7 separate regions of the Homo sapiens genome follow, and regions 2, 3, 4, 5, 6 and 7 are each linked to region 1. Evidence: promoter capture Hi-C in 16 types of primary human blood cells and fetal thymus (Javierre and others, 2016). All regions are on one chromosome and are shown on one strand. Each heading gives the region's core, a stretch centred on a gene start or on the middle of the fragment in contact. The rest is flanking DNA. Distances are from core to core; before and after follow the strand shown.

Region 1 (3,913 bases), core at 305-2,804:
GAACATAACCTGGGCATCCTCGTGCTTTATCTGGGAAAATAGCCCTCTTCCAGGTGGCAGAAAAAAGAAATCATTTGTACTTGAATAAGTAGGAATTCTTAATTCAAGACACCTGACCCAGCACTAAACTTGGAAAAAAACCAAGACTAGTATTATGTCCCCTAGTGACTGCTTCACACACCACCTCAGCAAATTTAATCCTCTCTAGAAATTAACTGCCATGTTTCTGAGACAATCTCGTGAACTTAAATAACTATGGCAAAAATCAAGACTCAAACCCAGGTCTTCTGAGTCTGGTGCTACTGCCTCATGCACCAGTCCTGTCTCCCAAAATGCTGTAGAGCTGTTAAATAAAAATATTATACTGACCTCATTTCTCAAACAAACTTTTTGCTACCTCAAGTAAAAGATCTAGTTACACTACATGTGTGCCTTCTTAATAACTGTATACTATTGGATTTTTAAATCGAAAATTCATCTTTAATCCTACATCTTGGTTCTGGACAGAAAGGTGGAGATTTAAAATAACATGTAATCAGAAAAATAGCTAATCAATCCTACAAAATGGGGGAGAAAACCTCGCCAAATTTCAGTTTTCACACATTTAACTAATAGTAACAAACAACATTAGTCGTGACGAATTTATTACCCAGATAGACTTTCCCAATATATTTACTTTGGTACTTGAGAAAAAGTATTAAGTGCAGCATTTTGGGGTGAGGGGGTGGACACACATCTTCAATACGCAGTTTCACCAAAATGAGGGAGTTTCCTACTCCCGGCGCCTTCTATATTTTTACTTCTTAGGCCAACAGGTCCATTTTTAATACAATCACCTACTTCGAGTTGCAGAACCCACAATTCACCACAACACAAAAATAACTCTCAGGGCGTCACGATATTCAAAAACTGACGTTACCAATAAGACAATCTTGGCCGAATCTAAGGGGCTACCGAAGTCACTTCGACTCGAGGCCGGGCTGGCCGAGCCGGAGCCCTGCCCGCCTTTGCCCCGCGCTCACCGGCGAGCTCACGCGCGACACCCGCGGCCCGCAGGGCTCCGAAGACCCCCCGCCCCACGGCCCAAGAGGAGGCCGCCCCGCGCCAAAGGAGGGCTCAGGCTTCTTCCCGTCACCCGCCACACGTCCCTGAGGAAGACACACAATCTGTCCCCTGCACCCGCCACAAACTCCACCACCCGACCAAAGGCCCCTGGCAAGGGAGGCCTGCGCTGTGGCCCCTTGGCCCCGGTGGCCCCGGACCAAGCTTCTCCACCTCATCCTGAGAGGAAGCGGCCTCCGCGTCCCCAGGCCTCTTCGTTTCCTCCCCTCCCCCACTCGCGGCCTGGTCCCGAACTAGCGCCCAAGACGGAGAAGAACTAGCTCCGCAGCTCATTACCCCGGCTCCTGAGCCGGCACCGACCAGTGCGCGTCCCACTCGCAGCAACACGCACCGCCGCCTTTCTCCTTGGAGTTCTAGGCCCGTGACTGAGGAAATGCAGTCGGCAGCGAAGCACAATGGCGCCCGCCCCTCTCCCGGATCCGGCGCAGAACCAGCCACCACCGTTAAGTGCCCCTCCCTGCTCCTCCTCCCCCCACTTCGCGGACTTCCTGGCTTCTCGCGAGAGTGGCGGCGCGGCGGGGACCGAGAGCTGCGGGCGGGCTGGAGGTACCCCACCGCGGGGTGGTGCTCTGACTGCGGGAACCGTTGAAGAGCTGCCCCCGGGGAGTCAGCGAGGCGCCACTGGTAAGCGGCAGCGGCTGGCTGGCCGGCGTGCCGGCAGCTGGGCTGGCGAGTGTGCGGGCGCCGGGCGCTGGAGGCCCGGGCCGGGGCGGTCCCCGCCCGTCTATAGTCTCTGAGCCAGCCCCTTCCCTCCCGGGCGCCGGGTCCCCGCCCACAGGCCCACCTGCAGGGCCCCGTGCTCGAAATAACGCCCAGCTGGTTGGCTTTTTTTTTTTTTTTTTTTCTTTTTCTGGCTCTTGGTAAGTGGCGCAGTGAATGTTGAATTGAATCAAGCACTGCCTTTTCCGACCTACCCCTCCCCGCTTGCTTCCCTGCCCGCCCTGTGTGATCTAACTGCAAGCCCTTTCCCTTAAGAGTTGGAGCCTGTTTGTCCAACCTTGTGATCATTTCCTTGTGGTAAGAATCTTGGTAAATGATGGTGATCATGTCTTTTAAAATCGTGATAGTAACCTTTAATAGCGTAGCCATCGATTTTGCAGTAAACAAATTCACCTATTTAGAAAGAGGGAGGAAAATTGTGAGGTGAATGGTCTGGTGAATATTAGATGAAACTTTCAAAGAACTGTAAATGTGGCAAACTAAGATGTAAATGAGTACTAATAAATAAAAGGGAGTAGGTTAGGGAAAAGCTACATCTAACTATGTGTAAATATTTAGATGATATGTTGATTTGGAATAATGAATCAAAAGTTTTTTAATGGAAAAGATCAGTTATTGAAACTTGGAAGAATACTGAAAGGCACTTGATTTTTTTTAATGACCTATTTTGTTAAGGTATTAAAAGCAATCCTTTGGATCCAAATAATTCCAATAAATGAAACACAGTGTTTCTACGTGTTTGTCATTACATCGGAAGGGAATGGAGTATCAGTCACTATCATCCTTATTTTATTGTCTTGGGGACTAACAGACTGTACATGTTTCACTATGATAAATTCTAAAATACTATAAATTTTAAAGACTTAAAGGTATTTTAAGTTGGCATGTAAGTGCCAATCTAACTTTTAGGATATGAAATGAAAATAAGCATCTGGTATGGGATAAAGTGAACAGAGATTACTTTTGAGGAAATTAATTTGCCCTTTAAAGAAAAATAATTCTTTTCCAGCCTGTTCGAGTGCCCCTGCAGCATTGTGGTTATAGATACACGGATGTATACACCCTGAAGAACCAGACTATATGGCTTCAAATTCCACCCCTGCCTCTTACTACCTTTGTTATCTCAAGCAATTCCTTAACCTTGCTAAACCTAGGTTTCCTGTAAAACGGGGTTAATAACAGTACCCATGCTCTGTAGCATTGTTTAGATGAGATAACACGTCAGTTCCTGAAACAAGTAAGCATTCCGTAATTGTTAGCTATTACATTCCATGTCTAAACCACCAATAATATTGTTTCTTTCTGTGACTTAATATTACATAGGTCTCTTAGACATCTTCTCAAGATTATGCTAAGAGAAATGACTGCACCCTTTTCCTGAGCTATGGCAGTCAGACCTGGCAGTGGTAACTACTCTACAGAACTCCCAAACCTGGCAAGGATGGTGCAGATTTTGGCAGATTATGGCTTTGTCCCCACCCAGCACTGATGATATTATAAAGTGAGTATGACACCAATTTCCTATGCTAAACAGAGCTTCTAGTTTTTTATTGGTGCTAGTAAATAAAGACCACTGATGAATATGTTTTTATTATTTAAGAATGGTTCGTTGTGTTTCTTTTTAATGTACTCTCTCTGATTTTAGTATTCAGGTAATTATCATGAGTGATAAATAATTATTGAGATTTTGCTATGCTGCAGACATTTTGCAGCCGGGCGCCGTGGCTCATGCCTGTAATCCCAGCACTTTGGGAGGCCAAGGTGGGTGGATCACGAGGTCAGGAGATCGAGACCATCCTGGCTAACACAGTGAAACCCTGTCTCTACTAAAAGTACAAAAAATTAGCCGGGCGTGGTGGCAGGCGCCTGTAGTCCCTGCTACTTGGGAGGCTGAGGCAGAAGAATCACTTGAACCCAGGAGGCAGAAGTTGCAGTGAGCCAAGATCATGCCACTGCACTCCAGCCTGGGCAACAGAGTGAAACTCCATCTCAAAAAAAAAAAAAAGACATTTTGCTAGGAATTATGGATGTGAATAGGTAAAACATGGTCATGGAAAATGACCATAGTTTC
Region 2 (4,009 bases), core at 505-3,004, 480 kb after region 1:
ATTATTAAATGTTCTCACATATAATTCTAAGCTGGAGTAACTATACAAAGGCATTTTTACACAATAGCCTGATATGTTCACTCCAGAAAAAAAACTTCAGGTTCAGGAAGTAAAGGTGGTGCTAACTTCTTGCCTGTCCAAAGTTGTTACTAGAATGGAAGCCATCCGCGGGAAGCTTGTTAGAACTTCACTGTCAGCGCAGGCTGAGCCTCTGGGACTGCACCCTTCTTTGCACTATTACCTCCAGTTGCTGAAGAATTGTTCAGGAACGTTGAAACTTGGAAATAAAAAGGGAAAAGCAATGTAAATATAGGAAAAGGCTGACTACGCATTTTATGAACTCATAGCTAATATGCTGCATGTTCACAGAAAGGCAGCAAGCCTTGCTAACATGGAAATCTCCAAACATTTCTTTGTAATTCTTTGTAAACCTTTTTAACTTAATGTATTGCTAAACTTTGTTAACCTTTACGACATAACTAGGATTCATAATCAATGGTTCCAGAAAACTTTTTTATTAATATGACATGCTTCTCACATTCTTACTATTGAGGATTAGAAAGGCTAGAAGCATGTTCTAGGTGTTTTTCTGTTGTATTCTTTTCTTGTAGGGTCTCGCTCTGTCACCCAGGCTGGAGTGCAATGGCACGATCTTGGCTCACTGCCGCCTCTGCCTCCTGGGTTCAGTCAATTCTCCTGCCTCACTCCCAGGTAGCTGTGATTACAGGTGCGTGCCACCACACCCAGCTACTTTTTGTATTTTTAGTAGAGAGAGGGTTTCACCATGTCGGCTAGGCTGGTCTCAAACTCCTGAGCTCATGATCCACCTGCCTTGCCCTCCCAAGTTGCTGGGATTACAGGCGTGAGCCACCAGGCCCGGCCGTTTTTCTGTTGTATTCTTTAAATAAAGTATGCTAATAATTTCAGCAGAACACTTTTTAAACTTAAAAGAACTTACCATTGGTCCAGCTGTCTCTGTTTTGATAGACATTTTCCGATGGAGGAGGTTAGCTGGTTTTTAAATAAAAATTAAATCATTCAAAGTCATTGCTAGAAAATGCAAAAAGCCTTTTTTTTTTTTTTTTTTTTGAGACGGAGTCTCGCTCTGTCACCCAGGCTGGAGTGTAGTGGAGCGATCTGGGTTCACGCCATTCTCCTGCCCCAGCCTCCTGAGTAGCTGGGACTACAGGTGCACGCCACCACACCCAGCTAATTTTTTGTATTTTTAGTAGAGACGGGGTTTCACCATGTGTTAGCCAGGAGGGTCTCCATCTCCTGACCTTGTGATCCGCCCACCTTGGCCTCCCAAAGTGCTGGGATTACAGGCGTGAGCCACTACGCCTGGCCAAAAAGGCATTTTTTAAAATAAGTGTTAAGGTATTTTGCTTTTCTTTCTTTCTTTTTTTTTTTTTGAGACTTGCGCTGGAGTGCAGTGGTGCAATCTCGGCTCACTGCAACCTCTGCCTCCTGGGTTCAAGTGATTCTCCTGCCTCAGCCTCCTGAGTAGCTGGGACTACAAGCGTACACCACCACGCCCAGCTAATTTTTGTATTTTTAGTAGAGACGGGGTTTCACCATGTTGGCCAGGATGATCTCTATCTCCTGACCTCGTGATCCGCCCGCCTTGGCCTCCCAAAGTGCTGGGATTACAGGCATGAGCCACCACGCCCAGCCAGTATTTTGCATTCTTATACTTTACCAGGCTAGTTTCTTGTAAAACAAAACTGCTGAAAACTAAGATGCCAGTAATTTACCTAATTGACACATCTCTTCTTGTATAAAACATAAACCAAAGCCGAACAACTGTCTTCCACACAAGCAAACCAAAACCATCAGTAAGAGGGGACATGAAACAGCCCCCATGCTGGGCACTCCAGACCCCACTGTTAGTTCAGGGCAATGTGGAGCAGCAACACCTGCCCACCACCCAGTCCTGTCAGGACTGACCATTAGCTTTCTAAGGATGTATCACCTCTTCCTGGCTGGGCCAAGTACCTTACTTATCTTTACTAAGTATATATCAAAATCATAATGTACAATAAATTACGAGAATATTCTTATTAGCTCCTTTACAGGAAAAATCATCTAATGACAAGAATTATGTATTAGGCGATACGTTCCTTCCCATCCCGTTTTTGTTTTTAACCTTCCATTAAATATAAAGCTCTAAAGGACTGAAACTACTTAGCCTTGCTAGCAAGAGCAGTGACCAAATAACCTGAGGTATTATGATGTTTAAGATTCCAAGAATTTTATCACAATACAACACAGTTTAATGTTCTCTCTCATATTACTTTGAAATATGTAGGCATAAAGACATACTTTTAACTGAAAGATAATACAAATGTGTTAAAGAACAAACTGTCATAACAGTGTTCAGTGTATTGCCAAAGTGTTTGAGAATTACAGTAGTAAAGATGTCCCGTTGCCAGTAAAAACAGACACCAAGATGTCTTGAAACAGATAGATAGGAAGTATATATTGCTTTCCTGCATGCTTTCTTTCTATTTGAGGCAAAAAGACTAAATTTGGCCCTTGAGTATTGTGGAATTTCTAGCAGCTGTCACCCTTATTCTGAAATTATAAAACGAAATTAAATAAGCATTTTGTAGTGTTAATATAAAATATGCTTTTCACTATTCCCTCTAGGGTAACAAAGATTAAAAGCAACAGAGATAGCTGTCATCAGGCTGTTCTCTACTTATCCATTGACTCATTTAGTGCAAAACACATTCTATTAATAGTCTTTATTCCATATGGAAAAGTACAGTAGTTGTGCAGAAACAAAACTAACAAAGGAGTAAGACTTTCACAAATATTAAAGAAAATAAATAAGCCATAGTAGTTACAGCAAAACTCATGGAAAGCCTATAAAAATGATAAAGCTGTTCATACAAAGTACAATTGTACACACAGGAACAAACGTTGAAGAATGACATCAGAGGTTCCTATTTGTACAAAACCATAATGATGTTCACAGGAACTTCATTACAACAATTCACTTTAAAACATTCTGCAAATATATAACTTCCTTCTCCTCAATTTTAGAAAATAAATTTCACATCCCAACATATAAAACAGATACACTCCTACTTCTCTCAAATTAGCATTTTAACATCTTCCAATAACACACCATTTTCATATAAAAATACCTTTAAACCAAGGTTCATTCCTGTACCTTATCTTTACAAATGAATAATACATCAGAGCTTGGACTTAAGTAGCACCTCAAAGGTGTTCATATAAATGAGATAAAGTGCTGTTACTGGTATACTGTTAACATGCCCTAATAATATATCATTCAGTGCAATAACCAGCATGGATGAAGCTTACAGAGAACATGCAAATCGTGACTGGGGTTTTCTTTTTTGTTTTTAGATTAACTACATTGAAATAGTTCTATTTACAAGTCTGAATAAAACTGGGCTATTTAATATATACAACATGTGACTATAAAGTACTAATTGTACAACAAAACAAAAGTAACAACCAGTCTTACCTTTAGTATCTGAATTAAATATTGTCCTTAGAGGAGCTTGGAAGGATTGTTCCAGGAGCACTACCATTGTTAAAAGCAGTTTGGAAACCAGGTGAGAGCTAATTTATAAGCGCCACTAAGAATGCTGGTCTTAGTATTTTAGCTTGAATCCACTTGACCACCAATCATGACTCCAAATGGCTTATACTGTTTCCAAATATCAAAAACACCTTCAAGCACAAATATAGGTTCCAAAAGTGCTATAAAAATATATGAATAAGAACCATAACACAGAAATAAGTGTTTAATCCCTTTATAGGAACTGCTATGAAGAGAATACTTAGGTGTTCTCATATTCTGCTTAAAAAAATTGGCTGCGTTTACAGTCGCACTTATATTTAGCTAGAACTCACTCAGAACTTAATTTTTATGTATATATAAAATGGGATTTGACTCAATGGAACTGTAACTGTAAAATTCCATCGTTTCCAGAATACATCACTTGGATGTACATCACTTGGTCATGAGTTA
Region 3 (3,950 bases), core at 1,451-3,950, 450 kb after region 1:
CCATCATCAACATTGGAGGGTCTACTGAACAAGGAATTTTAAGCTAATAGGTGTGAATCCTGTGGTCAGACTGTGATCAGCTCCCTTAATAAGTACAAATATTAATGTTCTGCAGAGTGTGGTACCACTTGTATTGCAGATGTTTTTTCACCTTGTAGTGTATATTGTTCTGGCATAAAAGCCTGTTTCCAAGGGGGGTAGAAATGCCAGATAGAGGCATATTTATCCATTGTTTTAAATTACTCATTTTGTTATAATGTTGTATTTTTGTGTGTGTGATGTTCTTTTTCTTTGCTAGCATAACCCCAGATGTCTGCTTTTAATTTTTATACCATTACAAGGAATCATGTAGTCAACATCAAGTTTAGAATTATAATTTTCAAAAATGGATCATAATCAAAACATATATACATTGATTAGCATTTAAGGCACGCCTTATCAATGGTAAAGAATAGTGCTATCTGAAACAAAACCAAGTAGCAAATAATAGCTTTTCCTTGTGGTTTTTCCCATTCAGTTACTAACTTGTTATAGAGTCGTGTTTTATTTATATATCAGAGATGCTTGTTCTGTTCATGGTCATGTAGCGTAAATAGTATATACTATTGTTTTAATAAAGCTTATAATTTTCTAAATTTTATATATGGCATGTTGTTTTTTTTGAGATAGAGTCTCACTTTGCCACCCAGGCTGGAGTACAGTGGCATGATCTTGGCTCATTGTAACCTCCACCTCCCAGGTTCAGGCCATCCTCTTGCCTCAGCTTACCAAGGAGATGGGATTACAGGTGCACGCCACCATGCCCGGATAATTTTTTTCTGTATTTTTAGTAGACATGGGTTTCACCATGTTGGCCAGGCTGGTCTCAAACTCCTGACCTCATGATCCGCTCGAATCAACCTCCCAAAGTGCTGGGATTACAGGCGTGAGCCGCTGCGCCTGGCCACGTGTAGTTTTTTGAATTAAAGTTTTCATGCATATGAACAAAAGGATTGCATTCTAAATGTATGTTAATATCTGTCTTTTCTAGAAAAGTTACTAAAATTACTTAAAAATACTAATTACATAAATGCTGTACTTTGTTTTTATAGAACTTTTCACCTATAATTTATTTTCTTTTAAGGTCAGTGGATAAGTCTGTCATAGTATATGATACTGTAAGTATTTAAAAATCTTGTGGTGATCTATGAAAGTTATGTTTATTAGACTACTGAACTTCAAGTTAGGCCTGGTAGAAAAAGTATATATTTTTTCTGTTTAGTATGACTAAGAACATAAATATTTTCACAAATGCTAAAATAGTTACGCAAGTAAGATATTGGTTCTGCAACAAGCCCTTAAATATTTCAGTAATGATTTTAAGATGGATAGATTTTAAATGTGATCATAAACTATACATATTTAAAGAGCACCAGTGTTCAAAACATCACATACAATCAATTATTAAACTTTTACACCAGGCTTCCATAATAGCAAAGGATGAATGTTTACCCTAGGGTTTTTGGTGAATATGGTTGAAAGTGACCTACCATTCTTAGAGTCCTGGCTGGATTTAGGGAGAGGCATAAGAAAGGATAGGTTATCATGGACTTGGAAAATGGGAGTTTTTTACTGATCCATGTGTGGGTAAAGACCAAGTTGTGGCCGGGTGCAGTGGCTCACACCTGTAATCCCAGCATGTCAGAAGGCTGAAGCAGGCAGATGGCTTGAGTCCAGGAGTTTAAGACCAGCCTGGCCAACATGGTGAAACCTCATCTCTACCAAAAATACAAAAACTTAGCTGACCGTGGTGGCGCGTCCCTGTAGTCCCAGCTACTTGGGAGTCTGAGGCAAGAGGATGGCTTGAACCCCGGAGGTGGAGGTTGCAGTGAGCCGAGATTGTGCCACTGCACTCCAGCCTGGGCAACAGAGTGAGACCCTGTCTCAAAAATAAAGTAGTTGAAAAAAATATTGTCCAAAAGAAGAAAATGTTGAGTGGAGCCTCCTAATGCTGTAGCTATGCCAGCAAATAAATGGAGATATAAGTAATCAAAGGGTAGCGAGTTAAGCAAGTGATGTAAGCTAGTCTTCCACACAGAAGTTCGAGTCACTGAGTGTTCTGGCAGGAAATGGGAAAGAATACTCAAGCTAGGTGAGGTAAATCTTTAATATTTCTCATGAACGTTTCATGAGATTTTACATTCTCAAAAACAATTATAACACTAAATTGTCTCTGTAAAATATGTATGAGTCCCACTTAAATACACCTAAAATGTTAGATGGACACCTTAGTGTACTCTAAGGGACTAATTTATTTATTTGTTTTTTTGAGACAGACTCTTGCTCCTTTGCCCAGGCCGTAGTGCAGTGGTGCGATCTTGGCTCACTGCAACCTCTGCCTCCCGGGTTCAAGCAATTCTCCTGCCTTAGCCTCCCAAGTAGCTGGGACTACAGGCACGTGCCACCATGCCAGCTAATATTTTATATTTTTAATAGGGATGGGGTTTCACCGTGTTGGCCAGGCTGGTCTCAAACTCCTGAGCTCAAGTGATCCACCTGCCTCGGCCTCCCGACATGCTGGGATTATAGGTGTGAGCCACTGCACCCGGCCAAGGGACTAATTTCTACTCACTGGTCCTGCAATGTATACAAGTCAAATGCCATAGTCAAAAATATGAATTATTTCAGGTAATAGATGTTTAGGTTACTATTAGTAGGTTCAAACAGATGAGCAAATGCCAAGGGTCTACTGTACTAAAAATTTCTAAGGAGGTGGCTAGCAGACAATAATGCCGATAATTGACAAAAAGTGAAGTAAGTACCTGAGAATGCTGTTACAGATGCTGTTTCTGCTATTCATTGAGTAAAGTTTCAACTTATGTTAGTTACTAATAAATATTAATATATCCACTTAGTATACAACCCATTTATGTCAAATGAGTCTTCATCAGTAACTTTACTCTTACTTGAGTAAATTTAAAGCTGTTTTTATTGTTTTTCAGAATACTGAGAATATACTTCACACATTGACTCAGCACACCAGGTCTGAACTTAACCTCACCTTGTATTAATATAATTTAAAAATTAGTCAGAAGATACATAATAGTTGTTTTTATTAACTAGGTATGTCACAACTTGTGCTTTTGCACCTAATACCCTTTTACTTGCTACTGGTTCAATGGACAAAACAGTGAACATCTGGCAATTTGACCTGGAAACACTTTGCCAAGGTTAGTAAGGACATCATTTTTCACTCATTTCAACCCCACTCACCATTAGGGTCAGAAAGTTAGTAAATCGGGCTGGGCACCGCGGCTCACACCTGTAATCCCAGCACTTTGGGAGGCCAAGGTGGGTGTATCACTTGAGGTCAGAAGTTCGAGACCAGCCTGGCCAACATGGTGAAACCCTGTCTCTACTAAAAATACAAAAAAGTAGCTCAGCATGATGGTGCATGCTTATAATCCCCGCTACTCGGGAGGCTGAGGCAGGAGAATCGCTTGAACCTGGGAGGCGGAGGTTACAGTGACCTGAGATCGTGCCATTGCACTCCAGCCTGGGCGACAAGAGTGAAACTCCATCTCAAAAAAAAAAAAAAAAGTTAGTAAATCATTTGACAGGTTATTCACATTGCTTTTATCAATATAAAGTATACATCCAAATTTAATGTCATTTAAAAATAGTTTGGCCTGGCATGGTGGCTCACACTTATAATCCCAGCACTTTGGGAGGCCGAGGTGGATGGATTGCGTGAGCCCAGGAGTCTGAGATTAGCTTGGGCAACATGGTGAAACCCCATCTCTACAAAAAAGACAAAAATTAGCCACACATGGGGGTGTGCACTTGTGGCCCCAGCTACTTGGGATGCTGAGGTGGGAAGGATCACCTGAGCCCAGGAGGTCATGAGGCTGCAGTGAGCTGAGAACACGCCACTGTACTTCAGCCTGGGCAAGGGAGTGAGAACTCATCTC
Region 4 (3,715 bases), core at 3-2,502, 500 kb after region 1:
ATTTGGTGACTCCCTCTTGAGGCAACTAAAAACCTGTAAGCACAGGCAGACTATGCTCAGGCTTAAAACAGATCACGTTCTACACACAAATTCCTGACAAGGCTCTCGTTTACAAATGATGCAGACAGACAACAAGATCTGTGTTTTCCTTTTTCTAAGCAGATTGAGTATTCTGGGGCCATCACGGCGAACTCCTGAGGCTCTGCCATTTTCAGGGGATCTCAAGTTTTAGCAGCCACAGGGACTTACGAACACAAGAGAGACTGAAGAATAGCCACCCACATGCTTAAGCAAACAGAACCATGGCTAAATTATGCTCAGGAATTCCAGCTATTCTGCTGCAAAGGCCGACCTCTGGTGCTGCCCACCAGGCTCCAGTGAGGGTTAATGCACCCCACCTGACCCGAAGGAAAAGAGGGCAGGGGAGGGCAGGAGAAGAGAATGCCTTGCTATGGGCAGTACCTTGCCTTCTGGCCAATGAAATACAAAGATGGAGAAAAAAAGACTTGGTATGAAATGGGAGCTCAAAAATCAACGTGAACAGATGGCACTTTTTAGGACTCAAATTGGACACAATTTCTTCTAGTTGTAAAATCCTTAACAAGATGGCATTTGTGAATTAGATTCCCATGAAAGCACATACCTCAGCAACACTGTCCTGTCTTGAGAAGGCAAGTAGGTTTGTAATGGCAGACGTTCATTTTAAGAACAACCTGACTGGCCAGGTGCAGTGGCTCATGCCTGTAATCCCAGCACTTTGGGAGGCTGTGGCGGGCAAGTCACCTGAGGTCAGGAGTTCAAGACCAGCCTGGCCAACATGGTGAAACCCTGCCTCTACTAAAAATACAAAAATTAGCCGGGAGTGGTGGCACGCGCCTATAATCCCAGCTACTTGGGAGGCTGAGCAAGAGAATCGCTTGAACCTGGGAGGCGGAGGTTGCAGTGAGCTGAGATTGTGCCATTGTACTCCAGCCTGGGCGACAGAGCAAGACTCCATCTTAAAAAAAAAAAAATTAAAAGATCAGGCATGGTGGCTCATGCCTGTAATCCCAGCACTTTGGGAGGCCGAGGCGTGCAGATCAGATCACGAGGTCAAGAGATCGAGACCATTCTGGCCAACATGGTGAAACCCTGTCTCTATTAAAAGTACAAAAATTAGCTGGGCGTGATGACACATTCCTGTAATCCCAGCTACTCGGGAAAGCTGAGGCAGGAGAATCACTTGAACCCAGGAGGCAGAGCTTGCAGTGAGCCGAGATCTCGCCACTGCACTCCAGCCTGGTGAAAGAGCAAGACACCATCTCAAAAAAAAACAAAAAACAAACAAACAAACAAAACCTGACAACAATCTGAACGTATTGGAAACAGCAGTGAGAGAGCTTTTTGCACCATAAAATGGATGGTTTGCAGGAATCTCTTATATATTAAAGTTCTCTGGGAAAAGATTTGATTTGCAAAAACTCAATTGTCAACTTGCCGGGGACACAGTCATTCCACAAACAGGGCTATTCCTAAAATTTTAAAGCAGATCTGTCACTCAAATTCACAGGATGTGCTCCCCAGGCTCAGGATCGCTTGGCTTACAGATCACAACAATGGGTCTGTATTCCCACCCACATTTGCTTTTGGACCCAACTTGGGGGCTTGGAGAGAAGGGCGGCAGGGTCAGCGCACACAGAAGCTGCTTCCCGCTGGCAGACTATGACCTTTTCATGCATTACCCACGGATGTATGAAAACCATTCTGCAAACTGGAACTGAGTACCTCCAGAGAACAGCTTGTACCTGCAGAACCCACTTCCTGCTAGCTGAGAGGGCACTGCGGGCAGGGCAGGGCAGGGCGGCTGGGCTCTGCTTGTATGCTTATATTCACATGTGCAATTTACTTGCTTGTATTCACATGTGCAATTTACTTCCTATTATCCTGGCCTCTCCCATATTTTAAAAAATGAGTGGAAAATGAAAAAAATGAGTGTCAACATTAATTGAAAGCAGCAGGGTCCTCACAAATGTCATCTAATTGTGGCCAAGGTGAGAACTGTGAGATGTGGTGAAGGCAGTGATGCTTGACCCTCAGTGGCAGGCCCGATGGCCACACCCTGCTCAACTGTAAAGGCAGAGAACACCAGGAAAGAGTGTGCCTGACACACTGCACATTTCTCAGCTACTTTATCTCAATGGTAAAATGTAATGAGGGATTTTAGGATTTTTTCTTTTTTTTAAACTCTGGGAATGACTGCCCACCCTGCCTTGGTAACTGACTCTAAGTGGCTATATGGCGGCTGACCGGTCAGGCTCGCTTTGCTGCCACTGGGAGCTCGGCCGTCACACTGAGGGCCTCAGGGAAGCTGGCCCCCACATTCCCTGGCTGAAAGCAGCAACCTTTCCCCAAAAGGCCAGGCAATGTGCCTTGCCTCCCCGCCCCACCTTCTAGAAATAGGACTAAGATTTACAGAAGCCAAATTTCATAGCTTCACTGTGTTCTTTGTTAGGCATTTCCTCCCGTCTCTGAGCGAGGGGAAGGCTTCTATTAGAAAGAAGAACATACTTTCCAAGAGCTATAAATTTTTCACCTCTACAAAGACAAGGCAGTTATCTAACCTAATCCTCAACAATTTAAAGGATAAAATGAAAGGTAATCAAGATGGCTCTTCCAGAAAACTGTACTTGCACTGGGAGACAAACACCCCAAGCCTTGGTGTCTGGGACAAGCCTCCAACACTGCCAGCCTCAACTGAAGCTTCTGCAGGCTGGGGCGCTGCTGCTCAGTGACCTCACAAATGGAAGCCAGCACTGCCCAGGTACAGTCACATGCTGTGTGATGATGTTTCAGTCAGCGACAGACTGCGTATACAATAGCACAGTGGTCTCATAAGATGATAATACCATATTTTTATACCTTCTCTATGTTTAGACATGTTTAGACACACAAGTATTTACCTTTGTGTTATAGCTGCCTACAGTATTCAGTACAGCAATATGCTGTACAGGCTTGGAGCCTGGGAGCAATAGGCTGTGCCATCCAGGCTTGTGTAAGTACACTGGAGGATTTTCACGCAATGACCAAATCGCCTAAGGATGCATCTCTCAGAACTATCTCATGCACGAATTTAAAAAGTTGTGGTTTTGAACACCTTCCTTATTGTTTCCCATTGGCAAAACTCTCCCAGGAGGGCCAGATCTCCCAATGGCCATGATGGGGCCTGCAGAAGCAGCCTGGCTGGAGCCAAGTATGGGGATTCTGTGTTATAAGGCAACAGGCATCAACCAAGCATCATGGAAAAATGTGGCTCCCTCTGCCGACAGACATGAACCCATTTTCACCGAGCTATCTAACAGAGGTGAATACAGGGCAGAATCCAAATCTGGGTAACCAGAACACTCCTGACCATGTTACAAACTCTACTGTAAAAACACTGTCAGCCTGTATGTGCATTCAAGATTAAACAGGAACCTCAAATTGCCAACTTCTTTTAAAAAATAAAATGTGTAACTGCACCTGTAAACAGGACTTCATGTGTGTGATCAAAATTCCTTTCTTTTCCATCCTTCACTTATGACTCCATCTTCCAAAGTAATTGCAAAATTGAAGATTCCATCACTTATACATCCACTTATTCAACTGACAAATGTATAGCATACATTAACATATTATATTAATAATATTAATCAACTTATCACAACCCTGACAATACATAGCATTGTATCAACACGTA
Region 5 (4,225 bases), core at 643-3,142, 350 kb after region 1:
CATGTCCCTTTTCCACAGTCTCAGTGGGTCTTTTAACTTTTTGAATAGGACTACATTCCCACACTCAAGAATTAGGCCGTCTCTCAATTTCTGTCTTATCATTCCTTCTGTTTATGAGCAATATCACATTTATTGGTGTGAGGGAGATTGCCTGAGTTCAGCCTATCGGTCTACTCCTTCTTTTGTTCCTTCTTTCTTTATATTTTGGGCAGAAACCTGTGCATCTCATGAGACCCTGTCTCTTTCCATTTCCGCCTCTGCTGTGGGGCTTGTATGACCTAAAAAGAACTATTTCATGTCCAACATTGCCTCCCAGATGAAGGAATAAGTCAAAGCAGTTGTCCACTTAGGAGGACCTGCTCTGATTCGGTCATCCAACATTCTCTGCACCAAGAGCATGTTGTCAGGGATTCTCTACTCAAACCCTGGATTTTCTTATAATTACGCTAACACAGCCAGTTGTCTCAGAGTGTGTTAGAGTAACTACACTATCTGTGGATCTAGTCCATTTCACATTCAAGTGGCAGGAAAATCACCCCAATGGTAATACGTATTACCCATGCTACCAAGCATCCAGTTTAGAAGCAGGGTTACAACATCAGCCCCAGTGTTATTAGTCAACCCAGACTGCTCATTGTTTAACCAGGTCATGTGTTTCCTTTTACTCAGCTTCCCTTAACAACACTGTTGTCTCCTAACCATGCAAATTAGCAGGCCAAGCCTCTACTATCCCTACAGTAGTGGAGCTAATAAGAGTCTTGCTCTTGCTCTGTATAATGCTGGATCTCCTCCTGCTGGTGTTCTCACTCAGGCTCCTGTACACCGTGCCTCACAGTAACTGGCTTCACATACAGCAGGACCAGTTGCCTCATATTACAGATAAACAGTGGGAATTTGCCCCACCTTCCCTTCTAGAGAGACTACCACACCCTTTCTAGTGCACCCTACCAATTTGTACTCCTGAAAATCTCTAAGCTGATAAGGAGAAGAGATAGAACTTAATTTCAAGCCACTGGAAACCCTCTTTACCACTTGAGGGCTTCTGCCATTCTCAGGCGTAGCTACTGAGACCATCCTAACTGCCAAGTGAATTACCACTGTCCCCAGGAGAAATTCTTTGACCCATGGGTTCTCCTCTTTCAGAAAGCCATGACATCGGGACTTTGTTGGGCACCAACTGTAGTACAAGATGGTTACACAAACCACTAACACACATGGTGCTAATAGCAGCAAAGTTTGTTAGTGAGAGTAACCTACAAGCAAAGAAGTAACCGTACACAGGATTCCCAGCCTCCATAATGATTCCACAGGACTTGGACATGCAGCAAGAGCACTCCAAGAGACGAAACACTGTACCCCACACCTTGCCCTGTATGCATTAGTGTGAGAAAGAGTAGAAAGCACTTAATTTCTGAGTAATGATAAACATTATCAAGGGACCTTTGGGTTTAGAAACAGTGCTAGGACATATGCATATCAAGGGTCAAAGTCTACATAGGGAGGACGCTGAGAACAGTGTTGACCTCAGCTGAAGGCCTTCTGACCTGCTGCTGCCTCTCAGGGAAGTGGGAAAGAAGAAAGCCCCTATGGCCTTCCAGCCAAAACCAAGGATTTTTTTTTCCAGTCCAGTTCACTGTTTTTTTTTAATTTGTTTGTTTTTTGTTTTGTTTTCTTTTGTTTCATTGTACTTTAAGTTCTGAGATACAAGTGTAGAACATACAGGTTTGTTACATAGGTATTCACTTGCCATGGTGGTTTGCTGCACCCATCAACCCGTCATCTACATTAGGTATTTCTCCTAATGCTATCCCTCCCCCAGACCCTCACCCCCCCGACAGGCCCCAGTGTGTGTTGTTCCCCTCCCTATGTCCATGTGTTCTCATCGTTCAACGCCCACTTATGAGTGAGAACTTGTGGTGTTTGGTTTTCTGTTCCTGTGTTAGTTTGCTAAGAATGATGGTTTCCAGCTTCATCCATGTCCCTGCAAAGGACATGAACTCATCCTTTTTTATGGCTGCATAGTATTCCATGGTGTATATGTGCCACATTTTCTTTATCTAGTCTATCATTTATGGGCATTTGAGTTGGTTCCAAGTCTTTGCTATTGTGAACAGTGCTGCAATAAACATACATGTGCATGTGTCTTTATAGTAGAATGATATATAATCCTTTGGATATATACCCAGTAATGGGATTGATTGCTGGGTCAAATTGTATTTCTGGTTGTAGATCCTTGAGGAATCACCACACTGTCTTCCACAATGGTTGAACTAATGTACACTACCACCAACAGTGTAAAAGCGTTCCTATTTCTCCACAGCCTCGCCAGCATCTGTTGTTTCCTGACTTTTTAATGATTGCCATTCTAACTGGCATGAGATGGTATCTCATTGTGGTTTTGATTTGCATTTCTCTAATGACCCATGATGATGAGCTTTTTTTCATATGTTTGTTGGCTGCATCAATGTCTTCTTTTGAGAAGTGTCTATTCATATCCTTCACCCACTTTTTGATGGGGTTGTTTATATTTTCTTGTAAATTTGTTTAAGTTCTTTGTAGATTCTGGATACTAGCGCTTTGTCAGATGGCTAGATTGCAAAAATCTTCTCCCATTCTGTAAGCTGCCTGTTCACTCTGATGATAGTTTCTTTTGCTGTGCAGAAGTTCTTTAGTTTAATTAGATCCCATTTGTCAATTTTGGCTTTTGTTGCCATTGCTTTTAGTGTTTTAGTTACCAAGTCCTTGCCCATGCCTATGTCCTGAATGGTATTGCCTAGGTTTTGTTCTAGGGTTTTTATGGTTTTAGGTCTGACGTTTAAGTCTTCAATCCATCTTGAGTTAATTTTCGTATAAGGTGTAAGGAAGGGGTCCAGTTTCAGTTTTCTGCATATGACTAGCCAGTTTTCCCAACACCATTTATTAAACAGGGAATCCTTTCCCCATTGCTTGTTTTTCTCAGGTTTGTCAAAGATCACATGGTTGTAGATGTGTGGCATTATTTCTGAGGCCTCTGTTCTGTTCCACTGTTCTATATATCTGTTTTGGTACCAGTACCATACTGTTTTAGTTACTGTAGCCTTGTAGCATAGTTTGAAGTCAGGTAGTGTGATGCCTCCAGCTTTGTTCTTTCTGCTTAGGGTTGTCTTGGCTATATGGGACCTTTTTTTGGTTCCATATGAAATTTAAAGTAGTTTTTTTCTAATTCTGTGAAGAAAGTGGTAGCTTGATGGGGACAGCATTGAATCTATAAATTACTTTGGGCAATATGGCCATTTTCACAATATTGATTCTTCTATCCATGAGCATGGAATGTTTTTCATTTGTTTGTGTCCTCTCTTATTTCCTTGAGCAGTGGTTTATAGTTCTCCTTGAAGAGGTCCTTCACATCCCTTGTAAGTTGGATTCCTAGGTATTTTATTTTCTTTGTAGCAATTGTGAATGGGAGTTCACTCATGATTTGGCTCTCTGTTTGTCTATTATTGGTGGATAGGAATGCTTGTGATTTTTGCACATTGATTTTGTATCCTGAGACTGCTGAAATAACTTACCAGCTTAAGGAGATTTTGGGCTGAGACGATGGGATTTTCTAAATATACAATCATGTCATCTGCAAACAGAGACAATTTGACTTCCTCTCTTCCTATTTGAATGACCTTTATTTCATTCTTTTACCTGATTGCCCCGGCCAGAACTTCCAATACTATGTTGAATAGGATTGGTAAGAAAGGGCATCCTTGTCTTGTGCCAGTATTCAAAGGGAATGCTTCCAGCTTTTGCCCATTCTGTATGATATTGGCCGTGGGTTTGTCATAAACAGCTCTTATTATTTTGAGATACCTCCCATCAATACCTAGTTTATTGGGAGTTTTTAGCATGAAGGGCTGTTGAATTTTGTCAAAGGCCTTTTCTGCATATATTGAGAGAATCATGTGGGTTTTGTCATTGGTCCTGTTTATGTGATGGATTACATTTATTGATTTCCATGTGTTGAAACAGCCTTGCACCCCAGTGATGAAGCCAACTTGATCAGGGCAGATAAGCTTTTTGATATGCTGCTGGATTCAGTTTGCCAGTATTTTATTGAGAATTTTCGCATCGATGTTCATCAGGGATATTGGCCTGAAATTTTCTTTTTTTGTGTTTCTGCCAGGTTTTGGTATCAGGTATTGACGCTGGCCTTATAAAATGAGTTAGGAAGGAGTCCCTCCTTTTCTATTGTTGGGAA
Region 6 (4,099 bases), core at 198-2,697, 390 kb after region 1:
AGGATTGTAGCATTTTATTTTCGTCTGAAGGTAATGATAGCTATACAGTCTGTACAGTAATTATCCTCTACCAACACTGTGGCGTCTCCTTAATCTTGGTAGTGCCTGCCTTTGAAACAGGGTGTAGGGGATATTAGTTTTCCATTTTTCTATTTTGTTATATAATTTTAAGCCACCAGGGCCTAAATTAAAGTATAATCATTTGTATCCATGTGGAATAAAATTGTGACAATTTCCTACGCACACAGTATTTTTTCATAGAAACATTTCCCTCCCATTTGCCTTGCCTCAGAAATAAATTTAAAAGACGTTTGTAACCACTGTGTTTTATCTACTGTGTGTTGTGGTGGCCTGTTGGAGGCAAATAGATCAGATTTTTTTTGTACCTACGTAAGAGTACTTGAAGTTTTATTTAAAATAAAATGTTGTGGAAAAGGTAGCATTCTTTTTTTAGGAGTGTTATTTTTCACTATGTGTGGCACGGATACAATAAAAGACTTTTACAAACTAATTTTTTAGTTTTTCTTAATGTACCTGAAAATATATTCTTTTTTAAAAGCCAGTTAATTTAAATTTGATTTTTACAGAGACCTGTAGGAGGAACAGTGTGTAGAGTGTGGTTCAAAGAGCACTGGGCTGGGTGGAAGAGGGTGAGTTTAAGTCAGGTGGCCAAACTTCTGTAGCCTGAAAACCTCTCTGGTCTGCGAACTTCTCCGAACCTTGTCTTCTTTCTTATTTCACATTTTCAAGATGAAAATATTAGAATACATTAGATCTTGTTCTGGTCTGAAAAATGCCTCTATGGGTAGCCAAATAACTCAGTTGTCAAGAAGAAAAACGGATATATAAATTAGTCTAATAAGACATGTATTTCTCCAAGAATTCAAGAAATGCAATTTGCTGCCCTGCTGGGCTCCGCCAGACTCCGGAGAATCATTGGCGTACAAGACAGGCCTTGCCTTCATGGAGCTTATAGCCCCTTGAAGTGGGCCTTAGATAATGTCCACTGCTTTTTATCATGAAGAGAGAATATAGAAATGTTTTGCAAAAAATTTTTTTAACTTCACAAAGCTTCAAAGCCACAGAGTATTTTCAGTATCTCTAGATTGTTTGTGAAGACTTATATGAAAAATCAGCTGTTACTATGTAAATATGTCAGTTTCTGTTAACCAGATATTGCAGTGATGCCTTAAAGGGGCTGGTGCTTAAGCAAAAATGCTTTGTAGAGCAGGGAAGAAGGCAGCACTGTGAATAAAAGTGTCTGGTTTTTGTGTTTCTAGAACTGCCTGATGCTCCATGGGGATTCTTCATGATGATTTTTTTTTGCCTTAGAGATTATATATGCTTATGTTAATTTATATTAGATGGTATATAAGGGGCTTGATAATAACATGTCTGGTGCCTCAGGGGCTCATAAATAAGAAAGTACTTAAACACACACACCAAAATTTTTGAGAGTGATAATTTTAAAAATAAATAGGAAAAAAAGAAAGGCTTGGTAAACACTGGCTACTTCGGACTGGTGTCTTCATTGTTGTTACTCAGCAGAGGTAGCTGTTAAACACTGAGTGGGCATGAGCCCACAAGGGCTGCGGTTGGAGCACATGACAGTGGTTACTATACATACGTGGATCACTTGTTATGTAAGTGATTCATGCACTCCCAGTGCCCTTGGTTGGGCTTATTCTCAATAAAACCAGTATCATTGTTCTCCTCAAATTAAAAAAAAAAAAGATTATCCTAACTCTCTCTGCTGTCACATAATTGCAAGTATATACAACATATTTTCCTTAAGATAAATTAGGCTTTCACCTGAAGCTTCCTCATTTTAGTCCTAAAATCTGTAAATTATTAAGAAACTGGCCTACTTTCAAGTTTAGATTTAGATTACCACTCAAGTGGTGACCAACCAAGGATAACCAAACAATCCACTACTGTTGAACACAGAAAATAATCATCAGTTTGAAACAGTATGCAGACAGTAAAGTAATATTTGAGTTGTTAACCACAGTGAAAATTAAACAGGTGAAGATGTGTCTATAGGTACACCTAAAACCCAAAAGAAGTAAATTAACCATAAATGCAAGGTGATCTTTTTCTTGTTCCAACTCCAAAATAAAACTTGTCACAAGCACCAGTTTTAATCTGAATTATGAAGGATCTAATCTGTCTTTAGTACCTTAATGTACCCCTCCATGCTCCTTCTCTTTTCCAGCCCCTCAATCCCCATATTCTTTAAGGAAATTCAAAATTCTGTCCCTTTAGCTTTCTCCCTTTAAACACATCCTCAACAAGGAAATCTGCTATCAGACATTTATTCCTAATTGTACTTTTAATTTATGAGCTTCCTCTTTCAAGGTTATTTGCTTTTCAAATATCTCCATTTGAGAAATGAAAGAGGTTTGTGTCTTCCTAAAAGAATTTTATTTCAACAAGGAGAATAAAGGAGGTATTTTATTTTATTTTATTTTATTTTATTTTATTTTATTGAGACAGAGTATTGCTCGGTCGCCCAGGCTGGAATGCAGTGGTGTGATCACAGCTCACTGCAACCTCCGCCTCACGGGTTCAAGTGATTCTTGTGCCTCAGCCTCCTGAGTAGTTGGGACTACAAGCACGTGCCACCACACCTGGCTGATTTCTGTATTTTCAGTAGAGATGGGGGTTTCACTATATTGGCCAGGCTGTTCTCAAACTCAGATGATCTGCCTGCCTCAGCCTCCCAAAGTGCTGGGATTACAGACATAAGCCACTAAAATGTTCTTTTCTTTCTTTTTTTTTTTTTTTTTTTTTTTTTTTTGAGATGGAGTCTTGCTCTGTCACCCAGGCTGGAGTACAGTGGTGCAATCTCGGCTCACTGCAAGCTCCGCCTCCTGGGTTCACACCATTCTCCTGCCTCAGCCTCCCAAGTAGCTGGGACTACAGGTATCCTCCACCACGCCCGGCTAATTTTTGTATTTTTAGTAGAGACGGGGTTTCACCGTGTTAGCCAGGATGGTCTCGATCTCCTGACCTCGTGATCTGCCCCCACGGCCTCCCGAAGTGCTGGGATTACAGGCGTGAGCCACCGCGCCCGGCCAAGCCACTAAAATTTTCTTTCCAGGGGGATGTGACTTTAAAAACTAGGGAAATGAATAGAATCTTATCTGCTGGGAATCTTGCTTCAACAAGATCTCTTAGACTTGCTTTGGCCTCATTACAACTCTACAAAAAAAGGAATTTTTTTTAAACCTCAAATAATTGAGGTAATTAATTTCTTTCTTCAATTCATGGCACACTCTTTACATTATTCTTGCAAAGCCCCTCTGTGTTACTTTTTTTGTTTTATTCTTCAGTTCATCTCCACTTTCCCCTATATACAACCACTTAAAATATGCCTTTCCAGTCGACTACTTATGTATTTATTTAGCAATATGTTTCTTTATATAATATGAAAAATACGTATGTACACACAGTGGTTTTTAGACATATCAGTTGTATTATGCTATAAATCTTATTGTTTTTAAATTCTGTTTCTGTTTCTTTTGAGTTGAAAAAATGTGTAACTCTAGTTCATTGGTTTTGATTGCTATAAGGTATTCCATCAGAGGCATACACAACATTTTACTTACAAATTCCTCTAGAAATGAAAACCTAGGTTGCCTGCAACTCATTGTCACTGCAAATAATACTTCAGTGATTTTTTTAATACATGGACTTGTGTATGGAATCCAGTTTCCAAGGTATCCCCAAGTGACCCTTGTCTTCTAGTATTCATGCCCATGTATAATCCCTTTCCACATTGTGTCGGGGTTAATCTTTGTGACCAACCTAATATGGCATAGTGATAGCTTTGTGAATTCCCAGACTAAGTCATAAAATAACACTGCTGCTTCCGCCTTGTTCTCTTGGATTACTTGTTCTCGGCAAAACCAGCCATTATGTTATGAGGATGCTTTAGCAGCCCAGCCCTATGGAGCAGCCAATAGCTACCACCAGCTTACCAGCCCTGTGCCTGAGGCATCTTAGAAGTGGATCCTTTAGCCCAAGTTAAACATTCAGATGACCGGAGCCCCAGCCAACATCTCGACTGAAACTTCATAAGCAACCCTGAGCCAGA
Region 7 (3,698 bases), core at 519-3,018, 370 kb after region 1:
TTCTTCTTTATGACTGAATAATATTCCATCCTATAAATATACTGCATTTTCTTTATCCATTCATCTGTTGATGGGCATTTAGGTTGATTCCATATTTTAGCTATTGTGAATATTGCTGCAGTAAATATAGGAGTACAAATATCTCTTCCATATATTGATTTTCTTTCTTTTCTATGTATACCCACTAATGGAATTGCTAGATCGTATGGTAGTTCTATTTTTAGATTTTTGAGGAACTTTCACACTGTTTTTCATAGTGGATAAGTTGGTTGTCTATCTTGATCTCACTTTTTTCAGTGTAGAAACTGTGAGTTAGGGGGAAGTTTTCTGTGTGCTTGGTTCCTGGCAGAATGAGGGTAGAGAAGCATCGTGGATATGGAAGTCCAGTTCTCTTACCATCTGCTCAGAGTTTTTTCACTTCTCTCTTGCCACAGGAACTATCTCATCCTCATGTTTGAATTTTGGGATGTTGCTGGTGATCGTCTCAGTGCCGTATATTTATTTTGGGTTTTCTGAGTGGTTGGCGGCAGGGACGGGGAGGGCATTGGAGGCAGGAACTGAAGCCAGCTTGTATCTGTGACACCATTTTAGAGTCCATCCTTCCTTTCTAAATATAAATATTCTACTGAGTTAAAGGGGAAGAATTTATCCTAGTATATAAGATAAAATAATTATATCTAAAGAGATGTTTAAGTTTATTCCATTTTTCATTTAATATGCATTTATTAAATACCTATTGCATCTCAGGCAGTGGACACCAAAAAATTGGATAAAGTGTCGTTCCTACCATAAGAAAGCTTGTCATATAATAGGGAGATCAGACATATACATATATGCAGAATCTAGTAGCTGATTGTTGAGAACAGAGTAATGTATGAATTTAGAAGAAGAATACTGACTTCTGGCAGAGATATGGAAGATTTCATTTAGAAGTTGAAATGGAACTTAAGAAAATGAGTATGGTTTGGACAATTGGAGACCAGGCAATATCATCCCAGGAAGTGGGAACAGCATGAGCAGAGCACGAGGATTGGAAAGCTTATCTCATGTTTGTGGAAGAGCAAATTATAGAATTTGACTGCAACATAAGATGTGTGAATGGGAACATGAAAAGGGATAGATTGAGGTACTTCAATGCCATGGTGAACATTTCCTAAAGAATAGGAAATCTTTGAAGGATTTTGAGCTACAGGATCATTGATTGTTCAGTCAACATACATGTATTGAGTGCCCATTATTTGCCTGCACTGTACTGGAGATAAATGAGTAAAAGCAGACATAGTCCCTGCTCTCATGGAATTTAGAAGTAGAAAAATATTCATCGAATAATTACACTACTATAAAATTACATTTATGACAAGGCTAAGGAGCATGGTCCTATGAGAACCTGTCAGAGAGGGACTTAGCTCCTGAAAGAGGTCAGGAAAGGATTCCTATCAGGATCCTTTCATGTTAAAGTGAATCTTAACATGAGACCTATGAAATGAGTGGCGTTAACTAGGTGAAGAGGAGCAAAAGAAAAGCAATACAGATAAAGGTAATAGCATATTTGAAGCCCCTGCAGTCAAAGGAAAAATGGTGAGCACAGAAGGACCTGTACAGAAGAATAATGGAAGGAATGAAAACAGAAAGGAAGAGCAAAGGCTCAGAGGCTACCCAGAGATTTCCATTTAAGTGATCCCATGAAACTGATAAGCATTTTGGTCTAAAATCCTTCAAAATATTTTGCTGATTGTTCTTATACCTTTTATAATATCAAAAGTTTATAAATTTTATTTTTCAAACTTTTCTTACAACTATTTCTTTTAATTTTTTTCTTCTTATTTCCACCTAGTTTTAGGAAACACAAGGTAAAATCTTTTAGTAACAATCCTTGAGATCTGCCAGTATCCAATGCTGTATTTTAAGTAAAGGTAATTCACCCACCTAGCATTTTAAGAGGAAACCATAATAACACTATTCTCTTGATATATAGGGTTGGATGTGTCCAGAGCCTGCATCAGAAAGGGAGGACTTGGTATATTTTGAACATAAATCATTTACTAAATTGTGCAAGGAGCATGATGGAGAATTTACTGGCGAAGACGAAAGCAGTGCACATGCACTAGAACGGAAGAGTGACAACCCCCTAGATATAGCTGTAACCAGGCTGGCTGATTTGGAGCGGAACATTGAAAGAAGGTATCTGAAGAGCCCCTTAAGTACCACCATTCAGATCAAACTGGATAATGTGGGCACAGTTACTGTCCCTGCTCCTGCACCATCCGTTAGTGGTGATGGTGACGGGTAGGTTATTGAGATTAACTTGAAAAATTATTGTGCTTCTTTGCTAATTGGAGCCTATTTTCTATTGCCTGTTATCTATGTATCTTCTTGTATGTCTGTGATCCATACGGATCATGCTATTTGCATGGTGCTTTGTAAAAACTTTTTTTTTGTTATGTGCGTTGATAATCCTGCAAAGTGATCTTACATCTACCTGGTTGTGACTAAGCTTTGAGGCACGTAGCCACAGTCTGTGCACTACATCAAATTTAGTTGCTTAAACCTTATACTTATTGGCTGTTACATGTTTTTGTCATTGCTTGGCTTTCAGTGTGATGATTGTTTCACATTCCGTAATCGTAAGTGTGGACATGACCTACTTAATTTTTCTATATTTCAATGCAGAATTGAAGAGGATATTGCTCCAGGGCTCAGGGTATGGAGAAGGGCATTATCAGAAGCTCGCAGTGCTGCACAGGTAGCTCTGTGCATTCAGCAATTACAGAAATCAATAGCATGGGAAAAATCAATTATGAAAGTTGTAAGTGTTTTTATTTAAGAAATATTATAACTAATTTACTTTGTCCTGTTTCTTCCAACCTCCAGATCTTTCTTAATTATACATTACCTATTGTCATAATAATGTATGCTATACTTGAGAGTTTTTCTAATTCTAAAAGATTTTTGATACTTTCCTCCTTACTGAAGGAACCTTTCAAATGTGTTATCTTTTATTTTTTAAAATCTTGCTTCTGCCTCCTTTGAATATCGTTTATACCTCTAACTGAAGTTGTCTCCCACATTCCATCAGCACAATAGTTATTAATCTAAATCTTGAAGGCTGTTTCACTGTAGTAAACAGTTCCATTGCTAACATTACCTGCTATATTACTGCGTAGCTAAAATGTCTTTTTCTATCAGTTTTCATTTTTTAATTCTAAGAAGCACTTAGATAAGTAAATACAAGATAAGCAGAGAACTCTTAGTTTATGTGCTTATATCATGTATTTGGCATCAGATGTGGTTGACATGAACAGTAGATCCTTTAGTCTGTCTTCTACTAATTAAAATTGGTTTTCCACCTTCTTTCTACAACCCCAATTAGTTTATCATTTAGTTTATCACAAAAATCTCTATTTTGTATCAGGCACCAAAATGGTGTGTGTTCAAAATACAGAGCTATAATTCATGTTTTCCAGAGAAATATTTACTTTAAATCATGTACAAGTGTCCCTCTTGCCTCTTTTATATTATCATATATAGAATTATCTATTATATGTAGTCTTTTATGAATTACTTTAACATTTGCTTTTTTGTTTGTTTTTTGAGACAGAGTCTCGCTCACCCAGGCTGGAGTGCAGTGGCACAATCTTGGCTCACTGCAACCTCTGCCTCCTGGGTTCAGGGGATTCTCCTGCATCAGCCTCCTGAGT

Evidence for each region. Contacts are between HindIII fragments. The CHiCAGO score rates a contact against its expected background, and 5 or more counts as called.
Region 2: a contact is called between a fragment that was not itself captured here and the fragment with the promoter of MARCHF7 in region 1, in 3 of 17 cell types (endothelial precursors, erythroblasts and megakaryocytes). The highest score is 8.7, in endothelial precursors.
Region 3: a fragment that was not itself captured here is called in contact with the fragment with the promoter of MARCHF7 in region 1 in 1 of 17 cell types (megakaryocytes); the score reaches 6.0 in megakaryocytes.
Region 4: a fragment that was not itself captured here is called in contact with the fragment with the promoter of MARCHF7 in region 1 in 2 of 17 cell types (naive CD8 T cells and total CD8 T cells); the score reaches 6.7 in naive CD8 T cells.
Region 5: a contact is called between a fragment that was not itself captured here and the fragment with the promoter of MARCHF7 in region 1, in 1 of 17 cell types (neutrophils). The highest score is 5.1, in neutrophils.
Region 6: a contact is called between a fragment that was not itself captured here and the fragment with the promoter of MARCHF7 in region 1, in 2 of 17 cell types (endothelial precursors and erythroblasts). The highest score is 7.6, in endothelial precursors.
Region 7: a fragment that was not itself captured here is called in contact with the fragment with the promoter of MARCHF7 in region 1 in 2 of 17 cell types (megakaryocytes and endothelial precursors); the score reaches 6.7 in megakaryocytes.

The regions. Positions count from the first base shown.
Region 1 is chr2:159,710,147-159,714,059 of GRCh38, reverse strand. It overlaps MARCHF7 (membrane associated ring-CH-type finger 7), which reads right to left and starts at 1,554. Exons shown (of 12, transcript NM_001282805.2): 1 at 1,454-1,554. It also overlaps a transcript of BAZ2B not described here. RefSeq lists silencers at 956-1,075, 1,596-2,105 and enhancers at 1,266-1,545, 1,313-1,979. The HindIII fragment of the contact is 3,093 bases long and covers 1,269-3,913 here.
Region 2 is chr2:159,231,383-159,235,391 of GRCh38, reverse strand. TANC1 (tetratricopeptide repeat, ankyrin repeat and coiled-coil containing 1) reads right to left here. Exons shown (of 27, transcript NM_033394.3): 27 at 2,733-4,009. It overlaps LOC105373716 (a long non-coding RNA gene), which reads right to left and starts at 685. Exons shown (of 2, transcript XR_002959431.1): 1 at 127-685. RefSeq lists enhancers at 213-382, 1,765-1,934 and a cis regulatory region at 1,849. The HindIII fragment of the contact is 3,153 bases long and covers 178-3,330 here.
Region 3 is chr2:159,257,017-159,260,966 of GRCh38, reverse strand. It overlaps WDSUB1 (WD repeat, sterile alpha motif and U-box domain containing 1), which reads left to right. Exons shown (of 11, transcript NM_001128212.3): 6 at 1,124-1,157; 7 at 2,982-3,022; 8 at 3,103-3,209. Among named protein-coding and RNA genes, the nearest start is that of WDSUB1, 28 kb to the left of the region's middle. RefSeq lists a silencer at 3,701-3,869. The HindIII fragment of the contact is 4,157 bases long and covers 622-3,950 here.
Region 4 is chr2:159,208,175-159,211,889 of GRCh38, reverse strand. The region is part of intron 19 of TANC1 (tetratricopeptide repeat, ankyrin repeat and coiled-coil containing 1); the gene reads right to left. Among named protein-coding and RNA genes, the nearest start is that of MIR6888, 23 kb to the right of the region's middle. RefSeq lists enhancers at 1-543, 1,848-2,067. The HindIII fragment of the contact is 2,978 bases long and covers 1-2,741 here.
Region 5 is chr2:159,359,562-159,363,786 of GRCh38, reverse strand. All of the region lies in intron 27 of BAZ2B (bromodomain adjacent to zinc finger domain 2B), which reads left to right. Among named protein-coding and RNA genes, the nearest start is that of WDSUB1, 75 kb to the right of the region's middle. The HindIII fragment of the contact is 4,300 bases long and covers 1-4,042 here.
Region 6 is chr2:159,315,391-159,319,489 of GRCh38, reverse strand. BAZ2B (bromodomain adjacent to zinc finger domain 2B) reads left to right here. Exons shown (of 37, transcript NM_013450.4): 37 at 1-511. Among named protein-coding and RNA genes, the nearest start is that of WDSUB1, 31 kb to the right of the region's middle. The HindIII fragment of the contact is 747 bases long and covers 1,074-1,820 here.
Region 7 is chr2:159,336,050-159,339,747 of GRCh38, reverse strand. BAZ2B (bromodomain adjacent to zinc finger domain 2B) reads left to right here. Exons shown (of 37, transcript NM_013450.4): 32 at 1,976-2,181; 33 at 2,671-2,806. Among named protein-coding and RNA genes, the nearest start is that of WDSUB1, 51 kb to the right of the region's middle. The HindIII fragment of the contact is 1,456 bases long and covers 1,041-2,496 here.